Linked DNA regions of Homo sapiens: region 1 is linked to region 2. Evidence: promoter capture Hi-C in human tissues and cell types (Jung and others, 2019). All regions are on one chromosome and are shown on one strand. Each heading gives the region's core, a stretch centred on a gene start or on the middle of the fragment in contact. The rest is flanking DNA. Distances are from core to core; before and after follow the strand shown. Region 1 has its middle 220 kb from the start of GAP43. Region 2 holds the start of GAP43 (growth associated protein 43).

What was found. Contacts are between HindIII fragments. The study calls those that stand out against the background at their distance.
Region 1: a contact is called between a fragment that was not itself captured here and the fragment with the promoter of GAP43 in region 2, in 2 of the 25 tissues and cell types used here (dorsolateral prefrontal cortex and thymus).

What each region holds. Positions count from the first base shown.
Region 1 is chr3:115,401,630-115,409,212 of GRCh38, forward strand. No RefSeq gene overlaps it. Among named protein-coding and RNA genes, the nearest start is that of GAP43, 220 kb to the right of the region's middle. The HindIII fragment of the contact is 4,378 bases long and covers 780-5,157 here.
Region 2 is chr3:115,621,928-115,628,531 of GRCh38, forward strand. It overlaps GAP43 (growth associated protein 43), which reads left to right and starts at 1,583. Exons shown (of 3, transcript NM_002045.4): 1 at 1,583-1,792. The coding sequence starts at 1,763. The HindIII fragment of the contact is 4,830 bases long and covers 1-3,244 here.

The DNA.
Region 1 (7,583 bases), core at 1,719-4,218, 220 kb before region 2:
CAAGGTATTATGGGAATACATAGGAAAAATCATAAGATTTATTACAAGAAGAAAAGTTGTCATGCCCTGTTTATAAGCTAAGAAGAACAGTAAGTGTCTCCACTTTTCTTCATCTCCTCCTTGGAGCCTTCGTTGTTAATCTTCCTGGCCTTCTCTGTGTCTTAACTCAGGATCTGAATTATGATCATTTTGCCTAGGATGAGGATGATAATTCATAGAAATTATTTGAAGCACTTTAAAGTTTGTGTTTAACTACAGCAGGCCCTCCAGGATCCCAGCACAGATCCTGTTGAATCCGTCTTAAGATATTTTCCAACTCAAATGTATCATCAAAAATGGAGGTTGGCCCAACCAAGCTGATGTATCTGTTTATTTATATTAATGAAGAATAGGAAACCAGCAGTATTTCAAAATATTACTCATATCTGCTTTTGAAAATAAACCAGAAACCATGGTAGGAGGATTTTTTTTTTATTGAATGATTTCTTGCTCTTTGACTTTGTAAGCTGATGTAGAGTGTTACATTCTTCTTCAAGTGTGCACAAAGACCTTTTGTTTTTCTGGGAAAATATCATTGTGTAATAGAAAAATATTGGATTATGAGTCAGGAGACCTGGAGTTTGGTTTTAGCTCTGCCATTAACTATGAAAGTGATCTTGGGTAAATTACTTAAATTCAGAATATTCTCTATTAAATGAAGTGGTTGGATAAAATGCTCCCTAAGTTCCCTTCCAGCCCCAATAGTCTTTGTTCCTCTGTGAGTCACCATGAGGGTGTTCAGTGAATGCATGTGGTTGACAAGAGAGGCATGTCACATAAAAAATTCATATAAGGATATGTCATAGGATGGTTTCCTGGGAAGCAAGCTCTGAGATGAAGATTAACAAGCAGGTAGTTTATTAGGAAGTGCTTCTGGGGTCAGTCCCTATGAAATAGAAGGGAATGAAGCAGGATTGAGCAGAGGAACAAGTAAAGCTATGACACAGTCTCAGTGGAAGACACAGTTGAATCTTCAGAGGTGTCCTGAGCTGGGAAAGTGGGCTGGGCTTTAATACCTTTGTGTGGAGCAGTTATTGGATGAAACCTGGAATGAAGTGGCTCTCTTTAGCTTAAGGAATCTCCAATGGAGGCTGACAATTAAGGGCTTTATTCAGTATAACTTCCAACAGCTGGAAGAATACATCCTTCATTCCTGAAGGATAATAATTGGTTTCTACCACAGGATGTCTGTGTGCTGTCATACTCTATTGGGCATCAGTGGAATGTATGTGAAAACAACACAGTGTTCATGCTCATAAAATGTTTATTTGGCCATCTATCCATCCATCCATCCATCTGTCCATCTATCCATCCATTCTTTTATGACCATTTTTTCCTTTTTGGTGATCATAGAACTGAGTTGGTGATTTCTCTTACTAGCAAAAAGGAATCCTTGGTTAAGGAAGGAGATGAATTTATTAATTCCCTTCCAATCTGAAGCTCCCTTTATTCTACAAACCAAAGAAAATGACTGAGGCAAGTCTCAATCAATTTAGAGGTTTATTTTGCTAAAATTGAGGATGTGCCTGGAAAAAAGTGACACAAGCCACAGTAGTATCTGGGGCTCACGCTTTTTACCAAGAGGATTTTCAGGACTTCAATATTTAAAGGGTAAAGATCCGGCAGGAGGGAAAAAGGGAAAGGGAAAAAAAGGGAGGGTGGGTTGTGAGATAAGTGGTCACATTCCTGTGAGGCTTTGATTAGCACTCACTGAATCAACATGTTACATGTGAAAGGAGTGAGTAGAAGAACAGTCAATTACACATTTGTCCTGGGTGGGTGGAAGGATGATTCCTTGTCTTTGTCCCAGACCTGTGAAGATAAGCTGTTAATTTACATTGTCAGGGTGAAGGAGGCCACCCAGGAAGACATGTTGCCTTCTACCTTGTAGCTGTCTGTTTAGGTACAAAAGAAAAGGCAATTTTTTGCATGACTCAGTTTCCAAGCTTAACTTTTCCCATTGGCATAGTGAATTTGGGGTCCCAAGATTTTATTTTCCTTTCACAATTCTACAATGCTATACCAATTAACAATAGTAAATGTCAGTTGAAGACTGTTGACTGTGGTTTGTGTAGTGTTTTTAAACGTGATTTTGTTTGATTCTCACAACTAGCTTATGCAGTTGGCTAAGCTTGTATTAAGTCTTACTGCAGAGATGAGGAGCCTGAGGGTCAGTTTAGTAAGTTGTCCAAAGTCATGGAGTCAGGATGAGATGAAAGGTAGACTTCGAGTCCAGGTCTGTTGCTTTCTGGTCCAGGATTGTCCATTATGTCAGAGTCAGCAGGAGCTTAAGGGCTATCTTGGAGCAGCTGATAAAATCCAGGCCTGAGGCAGCCTGTCTTCCTGGAGAGTCGTTTCTCAGCTGAAGCTGAGCCATTAGACAGCACTGACTTCTGGGGCAGGGGGCCTATGGCCTCTCCCAGTGTTTCAATTCTTTACATTTCAGCCTCCTGGAGCTCACTAAGCCTGTGCATAATCCTGTGTATATACCATCAGTGGACCCCCTGAACTTGGTAATTTTATACACACAGTAGCAGAGGTTGTTCTATCTGACTTAATGAACAGGAAAAGTCTTGGCAGGTGAATGTAATGTTTCACCATACTATAGGCCAGTGCTTCTCAAACCTTAACTTGCATTTTAATCACCTGGAAATCTTGTTAAAATGCAGACCCTGGTTCAATATGTCCAGGGTGGGGCCTGAGATTCTTCATTTTAAGCAAGTGCCCAGGTGATGCCAATACTGTCGGCTCATGGACCAGTTTCCCACTCTCCCAGGGTCAGAAACGCACAATCTTTCACAAAGGGAACTCAAGATTGGCCCTTGCTTTAAAGGCTAAGTGGAGCCAATGATCTGAAAGAAACAGGTCATAACTACAGTGTAGTTACACTTTCTCATCTCTTCCACCACTTCCTAACTTCCACCTTTTCCAAGGAAGAAAAGAAAGAAGGAGGGTGGCAAAGAAGGGAGAAAGGAATAAAAGAACGAGAAGGAAGGAAAAAATAATACCAGATAGGCAATATAGTATGTGGTCAGAACCAAGCTATAGCTGTATATGATGCTAATAGCATGTGTCCAACACTGGTTTGGAACCTCTCTTATTTAGCAGGGTCAGCATCATCCATTTTGTGAAAGAGGACAGGAAACCATATACATGAAATTGCTGCAGACTGGCAATGAGAGTAAAGGCAGCCCTTAGGGTTAGAAGTCCAGAAGAAAGCCTTGTGATCTGGTTAAACCAGCTGCATTGAGCAGGCTGTGGCTGGGTATTTATACAACCAAGAGCCCCTTGCTGCAGTCTCTGTGGTACTGATTTACTCCTTGATGGTGTCTGTACTGTAGAATATGGCTTCATTTTCTGGCTTCTCAGGCTAGTGGAGGGGGTGGGTGGAAACAGATGCTTTTGAAGTGATTTCCCTGCGAAATCATTCAGATTGCTTGTTCCTAAGGGGCATAAAATATTTTCTGAGTTTTCACTGTATAGTTTCCCTAAGCAATAGAAGAAGAGGGCAGAGAATGAAGGCAGGAAACAGCTTTAGTTAGTAATACATACTGGGTGGGGGAGGGGTACTTTTTCCTACAAGGCAAGCTCTCTAAATATGAGGAGAAGACATAAGAAAATCAGGGTCTGCTCGCAGAGGAAAAACTGTCGATGCAGTGGTGGAATATCCATGTGAATGGAATACTTAAAACAGGCATGGCCAAAGCCCCATGAGGTATTCTGTGCACTACAGGGCAGTTGTCAGTCATCCACTGCTTCCTGTCTCCATCCTGGTATCAGAGTGGTGGTACTGGGCTAGGTGGGATAAATGCTGACAGCCACTGTCCATGTTCTCAGCGGGGTGTGTGTGTGTGTGTGTGTGTGTGTGTGTGTGTGTTTGTGGTGGGGGAAGGGCGATGTATAAGGCTTTCCAGGAGCATGTGTCCCTGGAGACTTGGGGGAGAGCTGAGTTCAGGCCCTGGCGCCAGCCTTCCAGAGGGAAATCAGAAACATGATAATTAGGCATCTCCTCCCTCAGGCAAATGGAGAAGAGTTTGCTTTTCCTTAATGCCAGCCTGCAGAGATGAAAACCAGAAGGAAACGGCGGGATTTGCCTGCCATCCAGCTCAGGATTCCTAAAGCCCATGGTGAGAAGGTGCTGCTCTGAGTGTCAGTCACACATGCCATGAGCTGTTGACTTGAGCATCCTGGTCTCTTTTTCATGAAACTTTTCTGACCCACTTATTTGAATGATTTATCACAAATAAATCATATTTGATTCTTAAACATTGAAAACTGTTGCTTTCTGAGAAGATGGCACAGCATAAGACAGGGAGATATACAGAATAGGGATGTGTAATTTTACTTAAAGGAAATCTCCATGGGACTGGAAATAGCTTAAAGCTTAAAATAGCCTATTTTGCAAGAGCATTTGCAGTTTTTTAATTGATTTGCATTTGTAATTCTATTGAGTTCTACAACAGGCCTTGAGGCAGGCATTGTGATGGCCATTTCACAGATGACAAGACAGATTCTGAAAGACCTTGACTTGTCCAAGGTCAGATGATTAGTAAGTGGCAGATTTGAAACTCAATAAACCGTGTTCTGCTGCCTTCCACTGTGCTGTGACAGCTATCTAAAATTCTATATTATTTTCCAGATGGCAACCTTACCTGCTTCAGGGATCTATTTTACTATTTCCTGTAGAACATAGACTTTCATCCTCTTTGCAATTCTTGGCAGTATTCTTACTTAGCATTTCACTTGATATATTAAAGACCAACATTTCCCCTAGTTGATGATAAGAGAGTGACGGAGAAACAGGTTGTCCTACCTGTCCTCCTACCCACTGTGATTTTAGAGGAAGAGCAGGGTGTCTGCTTTGCACCATTGTTGCAGAGGTGATGTTAGATACCAGCTTTCACCACATTCTGGTAGAAAGCAAGTGGGAGATGGTAGAGAGGAGTAGGTATTGATGTAGGCTTTGGATTCAGACCTCAGTATGAGTGCCAGCCTTGCCACTGCTTATTTAATCTTTTGAGGCCTCAATTTACCCATTTCTGAAACAGGGGTAGCAATGCCTCTCTGTAAGGGTTAAGGTAAAGAATACATGTGAGGGGGGTCAGTAGAGTAAATGGTCCCAGAATGTTAGTGCCTGCTATTTTTAGGTGCATAGATTTTGCAGTGGAACCCTTGAAAAGAGATTGCCTTTGAAAGACTTGCAAAAATTCAAAATAATTTTGATGCAATTCAACTGAAAGGCCTTTACTTTCAGCTCTGTGATTCTCTGAGTCTAGGAAATACTGCTAAAATGTAAGCCTCTTAAGAGCTAAAGCTATGTCTCATGGACCTTTGTATTCCTCACAGTTGCCAAGCACAGAGCCTTATGTTGAAAACGTACTCAGTGAATTCCAGTTTAGTAGGGTGGGATGGATATAGGGAGTGAGTGTGTATGAAGGATGAGAAGATGGGGGTAAAGCTAAAGGCAAAGCTATTAAGGACCCAAAGACCTTGAATTATTGTGGTCCTCTTCTTTCTCCTGTACTTTTACCAGAGTACATTGTCAACAGAGTACATTGTCCACTCTCATGTTTATTGTCTTCGGTACAATAAACTCTGCTTTACTAAAGATGTGAGTGTCTAGATTCACAAATAAAGGGATAACCTAAACAGACTGAACTTCCAACTTTTTCAGCTTTGCAGATTATATAAAGATTAAACATTTCTGAATACACTGCTCTGCTATTCTTGGTTTACATCTTTTTCTTCTTGAGTATTCACAGAGCCTACATTCTCACCCATCTTGTCCTTCTTTTCTCAGTAGACCATCCTGGGCTTTCTGGGGTTCCATGGCCATGGCCATGATCATGAAAAGCTTCACCTTTTACCCAGCAGTGGTCTTTAGCTTCAATTGAACTCTCCCTCTCAAGTCCCTCCTAAAAGACTCCTCTTTTATGAACTGTCTTTTGAAATCCCCACTTCTGTGGATCAGCTGAAGTCAGGAGTTCAAGACCAGCCTGGCCAACATGGTGAAACCCCACCTCTACTAAAAATACAAAAACTAGCTGGGCGTGGTGGTAGGAGCCTGTAATCCCAGCTACTCAGGAGGCTGAGGCAGGAGAATCGCTTGAACCCGGGAGATGGAGTTTGCAGTGAGCCGAGATCACGCCATTGCACAAGAGCAAAATTCTGTCTCAAAAAAAAAAAAAAAAAAAAAAAGAAAAAGAAATCCCCAGTTCTGAACTGGAGAAAGCAGAAAGCAGAGAGGCCCTGCAAGGAATTGAGATCAAGAGACTTCTTTAGATTAGCTTACTTTGGGATGGATGATCAGTAAAAGGATCAGGGTCTTTCTGATGGGCAGAGCTGTCTATATGCATTGGTGGAGAAAGGAAACTATGACTAGGTGTGATATGAAGGTCATTGACAGCCCCATTTAAACACAAATGGCTCTCCTGTTAGGGTGTTGAAAGTGCTCTGTGGTTGTTCTGTATTATGTTTAGGACTTAGTCCTGCATTAGAGATGCACAATCAGAGTGAACCAGATAGGTCCAGTATCATATTCTAGCTTTGTCCATTACCGGATCTAGGACCTTAGGAAGATTGCTTCAGTTTCCTCATCCTGCAAAATTGCAAATAATATATCCCTTGTATGACTGTGGTAAGGAATACAAATAATGAATATAAACTGCTTCATGGAGCCTGCTGTGCAGCAGAGGCACAGTAAGTAGGAACTATTTATTATTATAGTATTCAAAGGCTATTCTTCCATAAACCACTCACAAAAATATGAATATACCTCCTGGGAGGAGAAATATCTTTTGTTTGTCAGTTTAACTAGTTTTACCTTGAAAACCACTTAGTGAGGTTCCAAGGAATGGAAAAAAGAAAGAAGGATGGGGGAAGTGGCCTAGAAAAATGGACAGGTATAGCAGGAGGGTTGAATGGAGGTGGATACCTGTGTTGGGTAGTCAGAGGACATTAGAGGAGCCTTGAGAGCATGAGAAGGACAAGTGACCAAACTGGAAGGCGGTGTTGCCCACAGGTTGCCTGGAAAAAGATACCTATTGCTAAGATTGGACTAGTTGTACCCATGATCATTGTGCCAGGTCGCCAAAGTATGAGAATGCCCTTCATCATTGCAGCAGCCCATGAAGGCTTCCAAATAATTCTGTTCTCTGCTCCCTCCAGCTACAGCAGAAGGGAGCTAGGTCAGAGACAACTTGAACATTTCATAAAACATTGTTATGAAGACAAAATGAAAACCAGGCAACAAGTGTATTCTCTTAGCTTGTCTGTTGGCCAATTGTTTGCTTGTGGCGGAATGACTTTTGAAGAATTGATCTAGAGGTGGAATCCACAATCTTCTTTCTCATTTCATCCAGATTGAGTCTGCTATTCTGTGTTTTATTTATAGAATAGTCAGGCTCCTTTCTTCCTTGAAGCCTACCTGGTACCTAGGGCACTAAGATTGTTAGGAGGCTTTTGTGTGCTAATTCAAGGCTGATGGAAGTGAATTTTTTTTTTATCATAATGATGGGAAGAAAATACATTTTGCTGAAAAGGTT
Region 2 (6,604 bases), core at 333-2,832:
GTATCATCATCACCATCGTTCCCAGGTACCTGTCTGAGATAGTCCATTTTGAAATAGATATACCTTAAATTATGTTAAAATGTACTAAGCACTTATTGAGCTCAGTGATCCTGAAATATGCCTAACAATAAGCTGCCTAGTTGCCACTTATTAGCTAGGTTTATGTCTAGGAGGTCTAGGAGGGACTATGAAGAATATGAGCTGTTTAATTAGGGGTACTTGTCATCACTAATGAACAACAAGAAATAGTTTGAAAACTTCTTTGAGATATTCACTTGCAAATGTCACCCGAATTTCAGAAAAGTACAGTCTCTGGAGTAAAGCTATTATACACTCAGAGAGACTGTTGTGCTTTGCATGCGTTATATCATTTAGTCCTCAAAACATGTTGTCAAGATTGGCATTATTATCTCCATTTTAAAGATGAGAAAATTAGGTGCAAAGAGCTTCAGTAACACACTCAAACTCATTCAACAATAAATAACTAAAAATTGTGCTATACACACTTTAAGAGTCACATGTTCCTCCCCCAAAATTATGAAAGGCCATAGAAGGAATTCAAGAAGTAGGCTTCATGACTTATCGTTTCTTCTCATCTCAGATGAATTCACTTTAATCTCTCATGCCCAAATTGTAAAATATCATTTTGATCACCGTCAATATTACACAGACCTGTTTGAATGTGCTCAGCTTTTTCAGTAAAATTAGAAGAAACCACAATTTACAAACAGGTATATGTGCATTAAGGAAAAAACAAAAAACTACCATGTGATTTTAGATATGGATGCCAATTCTTAAACATTGTTTATTATTTCTGAGCTCAAGTGCTTAGAATGTTTAAAATGCAATATATTTATGTGGATTTTTTTCCAGGATATTGGAACATATATAAAATATGCTTGTGCATATCTAAGCTTTGTATTTATTTCAGGTTATATGTATACTGAGAAGAATATATAAACAGTGTATGATATTTACATGTTATTTCATTTTTTGAGGGAAATTAACCTCCACAATTATTAACTATGCATAAAATGTAATGGCAGATATGACTTATATTGTATAGGACTGACTACAATTCCTCTTTAGAAATAGCTGTTCTTTGCTTTTATAATACTAGGAAAAGAGGAAAAGAGTTCTTAAAGAAATACAAGGATTCCTCAAGCCCCTCTTCCCTAAAACATGCTCTATCATATCTCCTGGATTGACTGGAATATCCTTCTCTGCCCCCACCCCATCACCCTCTCAATGCAGTGGAAAAGTCGGTGGGTAATTGGGTCCAGATTGGAGGTGTTTAAATATTCATGAGGCTGGCAGGGGACTGGGAGGGGGCGACTGTCTAGAATGGGGGTAGGGGCTGGGGGAAGTGATTAGTCACTGAAGGCTAGAGAACAATTCCGAGAAAGAGACGGAGAGAGAGGGAAGAAAAAGACAGATAGATAGATATTGGGGGGAAGGAGAAAAAAGGAGAAGAGAGGGAAGAGAGGACAGCGGAGAGAGAGCACCAGAGAGAGAGGGAGAGAGAGAGAGAGCGCTAGAGAGAGGGAGCGAGCATGTGCGATGAGCAATAGCTGTGGACCTTACAGTTGCTGCTAACTGCCCTGGTGTGTGTGAGGGAGAGAGAGGGAGGGAGGGAGAGAGAGCGCGCTAGCGCGAGAGAGCGAGTGAGCAAGCGAGCAGAAAAGAGGTGGAGAGGGGGGGAATAAGAAAGAGAGAGAAGGAAAGGAGAGAAGGCAGGAAGAAGGCAAGGGACGAGACAACCATGCTGTGCTGTATGAGAAGAACCAAACAGGTAGAGCTAAAGATTTTTTACTTCTTGCTGTTGTGAAATAACCCGAGTACAGTATTTCCCCGTAAAGGCAAACAATTTTTTTACTGCTTCTGCTCTGGCCGTGGTGCTCGCGCTTCCTTAGCATATGGTAACTGATGGTTGCATCCCAGCTTTTATTCTTTTCTGTCTTTCATGCTCTGGTTTTGGAATGCTGCTACTAATTAGGGTGAGGGTAGAAAAAACATGCCTGTTTGGCTAGAAATAATTTTTTTTTTTCTTATTAGTGAATGCTCAGCATTTGAGGTCTCTGGTCTTGAGGGTGTGGACGTAGAAAGGGGTGTGGGGGAGATGATGTGGGCTCTACCTACAAGATGGGGAGGCATTTCTTTATATTATTTGCAAAAAAGCAGGGTTGAGGAAATAATATTCAGAACTGAGTATTGCCTCTCTGTCATACAATTTTCTCACATGTGCTGCGGAAGATGCCTTATTTCGTGCATGCATGAGCTTCGAAGGGGCGCAGGTATTTATGGAAAAACGTGCAGGTCTTATTTATTTAGTATTTATTTTTCAATGAATGAATGAAACTGTGATTTGATAGATTTTTTTTTTTTTTAAGAGAAGCTAAGACAACTGGGGCTGGGGGAGAAATTGGCCATGCAGAAGGAGAAAATCCCCTTCCTAAGATCAGCAGCCGATTGTGCACCAGCTGGTCGGAGGAGAGGGTGGACCACGCCCCTAGGAGCTCCGATGGGATGGGAAAGACAGCCGGGTATTACCTGTTGGAAACCAGGTCTTTTCTCTTATCCCCTTCCCTTGCTTCTTTCCTGGGATTGTCAGTGACCAGAGACAGGCTAACATCCTGGATAATAAGTATGGTGACTCATTTTCATCAGGAAGAGGGACACATCCAAGATTAGCAAGAATCAGAGCCCCTCCTTCCCTCCCCCACTGCCCAGGTTTTACAGCCATTTCCAATTGCTCGCTTATTTCTTGAAAGACATTTTAGAAACTTGATTGGGGTGAGAGTGGGAAGGAATGACGAGTGTGGTATTCCGCAGCAACCGACCATGCCATGGCAGTCTCCAAAAGAAGCTTTCAAACATTTGTTGGAATGCATTTGAGTGATTTTGGCAAAGGTTAAAGAGAAAAATGGGTGTGGGATACGGGTGAGTGTGTGCGTATGCTTGACTGTGGTGGGGGTGGGGGTGTGGTGGGGGCAATCTTGGTCAAAGAAGCCCTTCGCAGACTGATTGCCTTAGGGGTGGGGTGCAAGAGATGGAATTTGGGTATAATTTCCAGTGCAGGTATTGGAAATTGGGCAATTTGTAATACACTCCCTGAATCCGAAGGGGGTGGAAGAGAGTGGAGAAGAAACAGCCTGCCAGCTTAGCACATTTAGCCAGCGCCCTGGAAGGAAGGGTGGGGAGTGAGGATGAAGGAGAAGGAGCAGGAAGAGGATGGGAGACTGAAGCAGAATGTCAGAGCAGTGGGAGTAGAGATTTGGCATAAATAAATAAATAAATAAATAAGCAGACATCCTGGATTGTGTGGGGCTATTTGGGGGAAAAAGTCGGATAGTGGGGGATTGAGTTGGGGGCGGTATTTGCAGCATCTCCTGAAACTGCCCTATGGTTACAGAGATTGATGCTTCCATTGGCTCATTTTATCAAACCAGGGCATTTTCTCTCTGTGTCCTCCTTCATTTTAATATATAAATGTAATAAATACAGGTGTCTGGGTTAAGAACACTGTCAAAGAAAAGTCCTGAGGTTATTTCACTGGTGAGCTGGGGAAATAACATTTAGGAAGGTGGAGCACTAAGTAAGCCAAAGCCATCCACTTAAAAAGCTTTAATTTTGGAAAGAAAAATATTCAGGTTCATAATTTGTTCCCACCCTATGTGTACATATGCAAGTATACATACATCTCCTTTAATAAAGGAAATCATGTATGATTTTTAGAAAAGGAATTAGGGCTAAAGGAATTCCCTTCCCAAAATGAAGACAGCTGCCTTCCCTGGGGCTCTATCTCACCAACAGCCCCAAGCATTCACTCTGATGTGCAAAGTGATGAAGCTGAAATTGTGTTTAGAGTTGTAGAAATTCGCATGTAAATGTATACAGCATCCACATACTTCATATGCTACAGTTGCATGTGTAAGTGGTTTCCACATGCCTCTCTGTGTTTTAGCATCATTTATATTCAAGAGAAAATTAAAGGTATAGAAATTGTCCTACTTTGCTCATGCATTTTATAAATGTGTACTTCTGTGTGAAATGGTCATGTCTCTTATAAACCACTGTTGTGTATCATTCACATTAGCCAGTATTTAGGATACCATTCAATCAGACTAAAGGAAATGGTGTATTCAGGGCGTGGGCTCACACTACACTGACTGGCATTTATGTAGCATGAGTACTTAAGTCTCACGCAGGTTGCCTGCTTGTGGATGAAATTCTGTATCATTTATGACAAAATCCAGTGGTGCCCATCCTTCTGCTGGCATCTATTCATCATCGTAGTACTTAACAGGGAATAAAACAAGGGCAAAAACCTGCAAAGGTCTAAGCTCTGCCACACCCATAAAATCCAGCAGAAACGTGGGAGGGGGGCTGAAGGGCTTGCACTTCCTTCCTCTTCCACTTGAGCGGCATAAAGAAGCAACCTTGGATTTCTAAGTTGGAATACATTGCCAGTGGGTGAGAAGAAAGCATAAATGATCTCTATTAGCCATTAGTTATCACTATAGATTATTATAGCAGGAAGAAGAGAATGAGAGTGGGGTAGAGATGAGAATATGGTAAAGGAGTGGGCAAAGGAGGAATAAAATAAAATAATCCCTAATATTGTATTGCCTTATGATTTTCAAATATCTTGGGGCTTACTTTAAATAGCTTAATTGCCATGTGTATTGCAGATGATTAAAAACTTGGCAAGGTGTGATTTATGTCTACAAAGCAAGAAAACTATGAGGTGTTTCTTTTGTTGAAAAATAATGACTTTAGTTTGTAATTGAAGTGTAAAGAATTTCATGCAAGCAAGTAGTCCCTCTACTCCCCAGCCCCCCATCCATGCCAATATCTGCTTTTTTCCTCATGCAACAAATAAATCTTATCTCTGAGAGTGTGATCTGTGGTTTAAAATTCCGACCTCTCTGCCTTTCCTTGCAGTGTTGGGAAGGTGTGGAAGGATGCTGCCTTGCTGCTTGGTGCAGGCGATTCTTCCTAGTGATAAATTGGATTCCTCCCAAATCTCTCTGAGCCACACCCAGTGTCACTCAGGGACTTAGTGAATTAATTAAGCTGAGCCATTTTACTTAATATAATTGAAGCTTCTCGTTCTTTTTTTTTTTTTTAATAGTGATTTTCACCACAGGTTTCCAAATTTAAACAGAAAAAATATTTGAAGGGCATTTTCTTTCTTTTTTCTTTCTTTTTTTTTTTTTTTTGCCAAATTATCTGGACTTGCAGAGAACCTTAGAAAATTCATGGTGAGTCTAGAAAGTGTTCATTTCTGGTGACTCTATAATTCCTTCTAACCCATGCCAGGGCGCATACACAATGAGCCCTGATCTCTCCTGCTGACAGAGTCTGTGTAACTCTCTTCCCCACCCCCTCCCCTACCAACCCATGCTGAGGCAACTGGAATAAGAAAATGCAGAGTTAATTTTCTTTCTTGCTGAGCTGGCAAAACTACAGAAACCTCCTTTGATGTTTCAAGCTAAAGGGCAGTACTCCTGTTCACCGAGAGGGAGAGTGGCTTGGGGTCTCCTTTGCCTCTGTCATAGTGAAATTGCCAGTGTTATTCCTGGGGCTGAATTAATCCACAGACTTCAGAATTTTACCTGGCCCCATAAGGAAGGGTACTGGTGTTCTTTCAGGCAAGAATAGAGCATATATATTAACCAATCGTATTGATAAAGTAAGACAAGTCTTCCTCTATTAATAGTTCAAAGAATGCACATAACCAGGTCATCTCAAGAGAAGGTATAGCAGCATTTAACTATTCACTTCCCTATTAGTATTAATAAAGGCATTAGGGCAACCAAGCAGTGGCTGTTGCAAACCAAAGAAGTGATTTCATACAGGAATTCTCCCTTTTCAATTTGTGAAGTGTGGTCAGGTGGCTTTTGTACCTTTGTAATTAAATCTTCATAACATTTTCAGAAGTGTTGGGAAGAATATTATACTGTGAGTCCTTAGTGGAGGCCACTTACTGACTGTGAGCTTTAATAAACCACATCACCTTGGGTTTCAGTTTCCTTCTGTAGAATGAAGAGTAAAAACCAAAAACCAGACACAAATGAACACTTTGCTTACCTTAAGGATTTTTGTAGGGCTTAAACATACTTGATGTGAAAATAAAGATCAATATAAGAAATTTTTATTCTCCCCAAGTTTTGCAATTTGAGGCTTGTCTTAGAGGCCCCAGTTTTGCAGGATGATCTAGTGCCTGCTGTGTCTACCTTTCCCTGTTAGAGATGAGTTCCTTCTAGTCTTAGTTGAGCCTTCTGCTTGTGCTCTTGCTCCTCCCCCCGTGTTTTCCCCAGAGCCCCAGTCCCTCATGCCCTGCTCTTTCTTGAGATTTCATCTTCTTGTGCTGCACTGGCTCCTTTCCTTATAGTTTATGAATATGCTTTTGCCTCATCTATCTTAAAAGATTCTCTCCTGACTCTATGTCCCCATCTCTATAGTTCTCTGTCTCACTCTCCCTTTAGAACAAAGTTCCAAGTACTCTCCACCCTCATTTTCTCCTCTTCTTCACTCCCCATTCACTATTCCATCTAGTTTAATTTGGCTTTGATTTTCATAATTTCACTGAAAAACATAT